Linked DNA regions of Homo sapiens: region 1 is linked to region 2. Evidence: promoter capture Hi-C in human tissues and cell types (Jung and others, 2019). All regions are on one chromosome and are shown on one strand. Each heading gives the region's core, a stretch centred on a gene start or on the middle of the fragment in contact. The rest is flanking DNA. Distances are from core to core; before and after follow the strand shown. Region 1 overlaps GRID2 (glutamate ionotropic receptor delta type subunit 2). Region 2 holds the start of GRID2 (glutamate ionotropic receptor delta type subunit 2).

Region 1 (3,050 bases), core at 183-2,682, 880 kb after region 2:
ATGGTAGTCCATGAGATTATCAAGAAGTAGGCTTAGAAAAAAAGGATTTAATAAATTTCACAAGTGTTTAAGAAACTTCTTACCAAAATAAGCTTTCTATTTGGCCTGTCACATTGGAATTCAAATGGCATTGAAATACTTCCAGTTCCCTTTAAACTTCAATGTAAAAATTACATTTTTAGTGTTTAAAATGAAGTATATCTGATAATGGTCTTCTCCAAATCTAATCTAAATGGTAGATTCCTTAAACTACCTCATGCAGGCCTATTTAATTTCCTCTTAAATTGTCAAAATCTATTTTTTAGTTGAACTCATTGTGTAGATCACTTTAACAGCTTTTTTTCTGAAAATATCTAATGATGTTATACCTCTATACATACTCCATTAACTTAAAAAAATGAATTTAGAACTCTAAATGTGTGATTTTTATGTGTGAAAAGATTCTTACTTAGGCAAACTATATTCTATTATCTTTAAAATAGACTGCATTATCAATTCAAATGTATAACTGATCAAATTAGAAGAGAGTGATCAAAAATAGTCATATAGGCAACTCCTAATTAATATTAGATTTAACTTTCTCTCTACTTCAGTTATGTAGAAATAGTGGTTTAAAGATAATGCTACATTATCAGAAGTCAAAATAGTTTTTAAAACATGCCTACAGGCATATTTTTCAAGTTTCCTTATTGTTCTGAAGACATGGCTGCTCAAATCTGGATCTTCAAATATTTGAATTATCAGAAACTTCAAGATTCTACACCCAGACATCACCGTCCTTATAAACAATTTATCACTTTAGAATTGTTGCCAAAGCCTAATAAAAACTCTAATCCTCTCTAGAGAAGGAACCTTGATTTTGTCTTTTTCTTCTCCAGTGCAGTAGTTTTCAGAGTGTGTTCCCTGAATCAGCATCACCTGGCAAAGTGTTAGAAAGCAAATTCTTGGGCACCAGCCCAGACCTACTGAATCAGAAGTTCTGGGAGTGGCGCCCTACAATTTATGTTTGCGAAGCCCCGCAGGTGTTTCTGATGCAGTATAAAGTTTGAGAAAGACTATACTGGCCTTAGGATAATATCTGGCATTCACAGGTTCTTTTATTCATCAACTGAGCAGAATTAAATCAAAATGAGTAAAATAAAGTAAATCAGGTGCCTGATATAAGGAACCAGAAATTCCTAAAATTTAGTTGCCTGAGGCAGAACTACATAAACACATAATATCTCAATTTTCACTGATTTCCAGTTTACTAATTAAAAAAAAATGAGGTGATCCATTTGGGTAAAATTTTTTAAAAAACTCTAACTTCACAAAATGTTTGACAGTCTTTTTACCTTTTATCCATGTCTGTCAAGCTTATTAAATTGAAGATAATACTAAACAGAATGTCATGAGTTTAAAATAATGATTTTATTATCCCCCTGTAAAGACATAACCATGTTTTCTTCAATACTCAAAAATGATAGCATTGACCCTCAATCAATAGATGTTTCACGTGTGATGAATTTGTTCTACTACATCTAAAGAGTCCCTGTAGCTACTAACAGCACTCAATAGAGGGTCCATTAGGGATTCTTCATGGCACCCAACTGATACATTCATTCAAACAACTACTTAGTAAGTGCCCACAAGGTACTTAATTACTGCCAGACATTGAACAGGATACAAGGCAATGTAGGGCAATTCTGTTCTCCAGGATTCTATAATGTGGCCTGGAATTAAAAGTAAAGAAAAGGAAAAGGGCCACACATTTTTCTCATACCATCATGTGCCAGGCACTGAATAGAGCAGGAGAAATAAACTATATCAGTAAATCCATGTTACCACTCAGGGAAGTTGGCTTCATTCCCAGATTACAAATAAGGAAACAATAGTTTGAGAGATGCTGAGAACTTGTTCAAACTCATCAGGTAAGAAACAAGGGAGGTAAAATTTAAAATCAAAACTGATTTTTAAGTGTCCACTGTACCTTACACTATATCAGTTCTTATATAAAAAATCAGCAGCAAGTCTTAGAGGAATACAATAAATGCCTAAATGAATGATGCACATTATTTGCTGTAGGGCGATTAGAAAAGGAGCAGTAACTGTGGATGAGGAAGTGAAGCCTTCCCAGTAAAAGTTCAACACAGATCTTCATTGAAAGAAAATGGTTTGTAGCTTGGATAAAGGAAAGAAGTAAATGTATTCCAGATGGGAAAAACTGTTAAACAGAAATGTGTAGTCAGGAACAAGAAAGGCAGGTTCCAGTAGAGTGGCAAAAATCAGCTCAGCACATTTAGTTGCCAAATAAATGATGTAGAATGGCTTTGCTTGGCTCTAGCTATGCATGAAGGCACACATTTTAACAACGAAAGGGGAGTGGTGAACAGTGCCACTTAGCTTTACTTAAGTGGTGTATTTACTGCCTGTGTCCGTGTACATTCAGTCAAGGTTTTGAAGTGCCTGCTTCTTTTGGCTCTAATTTTGTATATGCATTATCTTTCTTCATGTAAGTGATCATTCTGCTCCTCTCCTCTGCAACCAACAGGATTAGTTCACTTTAGCCATATTATTTCTCAAAAAAAAAAAAAAAAAAAAAAACTCACAGGTACTCTTTCATATATTTCTCAAGTCCCTACAGCTGAACAAGTTCTTAAAAATATCAGGTCTCTGGCCGGGTGCAGTGGCTCACGCCTGTAATCCCAGCACTTTGGGAGTCCAAGGTGGGCGGATCAAGAGGTCAGGAGTTCGAGACCAGCCTGGCCAACACAGTGAAACCCCATCTCTACAAAAAATACAAAAATTAGCTGGGCGTGGTGGCGTGTGCCTGTAATCGCAGATACTCAGGAGGCTGAGACAGGAGAATCACTTGAACCCTAGAGGCAGAAGTTGTGGTCAGCCAAGATTGCACCTCTGCACTCCAGCCTGGGCAACAGAGCAAGACTCTGTCTGAAAAAAAACACAAAAAACAAAATAACAATATCCACTCTCCCAGGTACTTATTTGTAGTTACTATAATGTGCCTGAAAGACACAAGTTCTACCATGAGTAATTCAGTATTCATTCAA
Region 2 (2,998 bases), core at 122-2,621:
TTTCCAAGCAGAAATATTAACATAAGTAAAAATATGGCAGCAAAACATTTTCTGGAATGTTCAGGAAAAAGTGTACAAGATGAATGAAAACAGCCAGAAGTGAGAATGTACAACTGTGTCTGGAAAAATAGTAACCCAATTCAGAAGGCTAGAGAGAAGGGCTCAAGTGAGGGAACGGGAGGAAAAGAGGTTTGCCAAACTTGGAGGTAAGGCTTTGAAAGGTTGTGTAATGAGCTTGACATCCACACATCCAACATTCCTAAAGAATTCCAATTATAACTGAGACAATATTATGACATTAATACCTGACCTCGACTAGTCACTCGATTGTGTTAACAAATCTTCAGTTTGCAATGAGGCCAGATTGACATAAGTCAATCATTATAAGAAAAGAAGTCACAATGATCAGGATTTTATCTTAAGGAATAAGCTTGCAGAAAATCCTTTCACTGGAGACTGAGAGGCTGTCATTCAGGACTTCCTCAGCTTTTTCCATGGAAGAGAGTACCCAACTTCCTCATTCGGAATTTATCTACATAGGTTATTAAGCTACTCAATGAAATATTTTGACCAAATGTTTATGAAAAATTTTTCTGTTTTATTTAATTATTCTGCTTTTTTATTTTAATTTCAAGATCTTTTCTATCCTGATAGAGAAGAATTTCTATCAATAGAAAGGATTTCAGGAACCTTTCTCTATCCTGATTGCCTAAAAAATACACTGGAGACAGAAAAAAAAAATCATTGTATAAAAGGTAATTAGCACGTTCTCTCCTTTTTATAACTTTATAATTGAAATCTCATTAAAAGCTTTCTAGGTCTGTATTTCCCTAAGTGACCAGGTGTCCCTAATTTGTTTTCAACCAATGTGACTAATTCCAGGCAAAGACTAGAAAAAGTCTGATACCTGTTAGAGAATAGCAAGGTTAAATAAGTGGGGTGGCTTTTTTAGGTTGCATTTAACCTCGTAAAATAAAGAAAGGAAAAAAAAAGCTTCAATGTCTTTTTACAGTCCTGCCTTTTTCTCAGTCCCGGTTGAAGATTCCATGGGAAATGAGAGCACTATTTTGTTTCTCCCTTGTATTGCAGATAGGGGGAGGAGGTGGTTATTAGAGAGAAGCTCTTCCTCTCTTGGTTTCCCCCTCTCTCCGCCTGACAGCACCGCTCTCTCGCAGGCTCGCTCCTTCTCCTAGGTGATCCATTTCTAGGCAACGTGGGGCTGGTGCTGAAGCTGCCAGGCTCGCTCCTTGCTTCCTGCATCCCGCCAGGCGAAACGCTCCAAAAGCATCCTGCAGCCTGCGGCGGCTTCCCTCCTCTGGCCCGGCCCCGCTGCTCGCGCCCGGCGCAACCCCCCCGCCACCGCGCCCCAGCAAACCGGCTCCCCGGGCCCGCCTCGCCAAGCTGCGTTCCGCGCCTCACGCAGAAAGGGAATTTTCTCTGCATTACTATCTGCATTACCTTGAAGTTCACTTTTTCTACCCCTCTTGGAGAGGGCTTTTTTCCCCCCTCCCTGGTGGAATCTGGCTGCTCCGTTTGGAATCTCCTAATCTTTCCTTTCCACTTAGATTCTGGCAGCGAAGACCAGTGATTCTCTGCGGGCTGTAGGGGCGGGGGCGGGGGTCTTTTTTGGTCCGAGAGGGTGCGGGGAAGGGGGCACATCCGGCGTGAGGGGGGTGTTGGAAGTTGCAGCGGAGCTGGGACCGGAGACCCGCGGCCCCCGCGCAGCGATGGGTCTGATCTGAGCCCCAGCCTCTCCCCCTGCCCAAGAGCAGTAGAGGCTGGATATATTTTTCAAAAGCCAAACTGCAAACAACTCTGGCGATGCCAAAATTCCCCTCCAAGTGACACGGCTTTGCGAAGGAGGTTTCCTCAGGCTGGGCTCTTTCTGTCATTCCCTTCTGCCTTTCTCGGCGACGATAAAAGGCTTTGCTCTGGCAATAGGAATTTAGAAAAAAAGAAAAAGCTGCGCTAAACTCCACCGTGACCTCAAACTCTTTGGACTGTTTGAAAAAAAAAAAATTGGAAGAAAATCCATCCTCCAAGAGAATCGGCATAGGAGGAGATGGAAGTTTTCCCCTTTCTCTTGGTTTTGTCCGTCTGGTGGTCTCGAACCTGGGACTCGGCGAATGCGGATTCGATCATTCACATCGGTAAGAAAGTGTTGGTGCAGCTCGTGGTTACTTTTACCGTTTCAGTTCTCAAATGTTTCCCCTTCGCTTTCCCCCTCTCCGGTCTCTGTGTGTCTTGTTGGAGGTGGCTTCAGTTCATTGCCCCTTCCCGCTACCCTTCCCTCACACTTGCTCAGTTTTCTGAAAGGATGTGGATGCTCGAACCTCGACTGACTTGTGCTGTTGTTTTGCAGTGATTCGTGGAATGTGGCTGGATGCGTGGGGGTCTCGAGTTGACCTGAGTGTGAGTGTGTGCTGGGAACTGCAGGGGGATTCTAAGTGTGTGGGGAAAGGGAGTTTAATTGACTCTTATCTTCCATATTTTTTTTCCCGGATGTACATTTGCTCCATTTAAAAATTTATCTTTGGGGGAGCAGAGAAGCTGTCACCTGTGAGATGAAAAGAACTGGGCTGGGGGGTAGGGGGAGCTCCCTTCGGATCGAACAGGTGGTTTTGCAACGTGAGCCGGCTGAGTTCGCCGCAGCTTAGTGCGATGGTGACGGGGGTGCCGGATGCGCCCCCAGCCACCCTCTCTTCTCACATCTTCTTGGCTTTATGATCCTTGCGTGTAGTCTTTGAGACGGTGGCAGGAGGGGCTGGCGGCAGTGTCGCCAAGGACTGATTGTCGCGTGCCTCGCCTCCTCGGACACGCTCCCGGGGCCTGGCGCGGCGGCGAAACTGACCCCGGGGCGCTTGGGAAACGCGGGGAAGCGAATGCGCGCAGGCTGCTCCCGAGGTCTGCTTAGCAGATATCCGCCTTGCCTCGCCTCGCCTCGCCTCGCAGTCAACTCCGAGTAGCCGCGCAAGGCAGACAGCGAAGGCGCCGGGAC

Evidence for each region. Contacts are between HindIII fragments. The study calls those that stand out against the background at their distance.
Region 1: a contact is called between a fragment that was not itself captured here and the fragment with the promoter of GRID2 in region 2, in 1 of the 25 tissues and cell types used here (dorsolateral prefrontal cortex).

Annotation. Positions count from the first base shown.
Region 1 is chr4:93,181,948-93,184,997 of GRCh38, forward strand. All of the region lies in intron 4 of GRID2 (glutamate ionotropic receptor delta type subunit 2), which reads left to right. Among named protein-coding and RNA genes, the nearest start is that of ATOH1, 650 kb to the right of the region's middle. The HindIII fragment of the contact is 5,008 bases long and covers 1-3,050 here.
Region 2 is chr4:92,302,595-92,305,592 of GRCh38, forward strand. It overlaps GRID2 (glutamate ionotropic receptor delta type subunit 2), which reads left to right and starts at 1,372. Exons shown (of 16, transcript NM_001510.4): 1 at 1,372-2,150. The coding sequence starts at 2,063. RefSeq lists a silencer at 2,904-2,998. The HindIII fragment of the contact is 11,112 bases long and covers 621-2,998 here.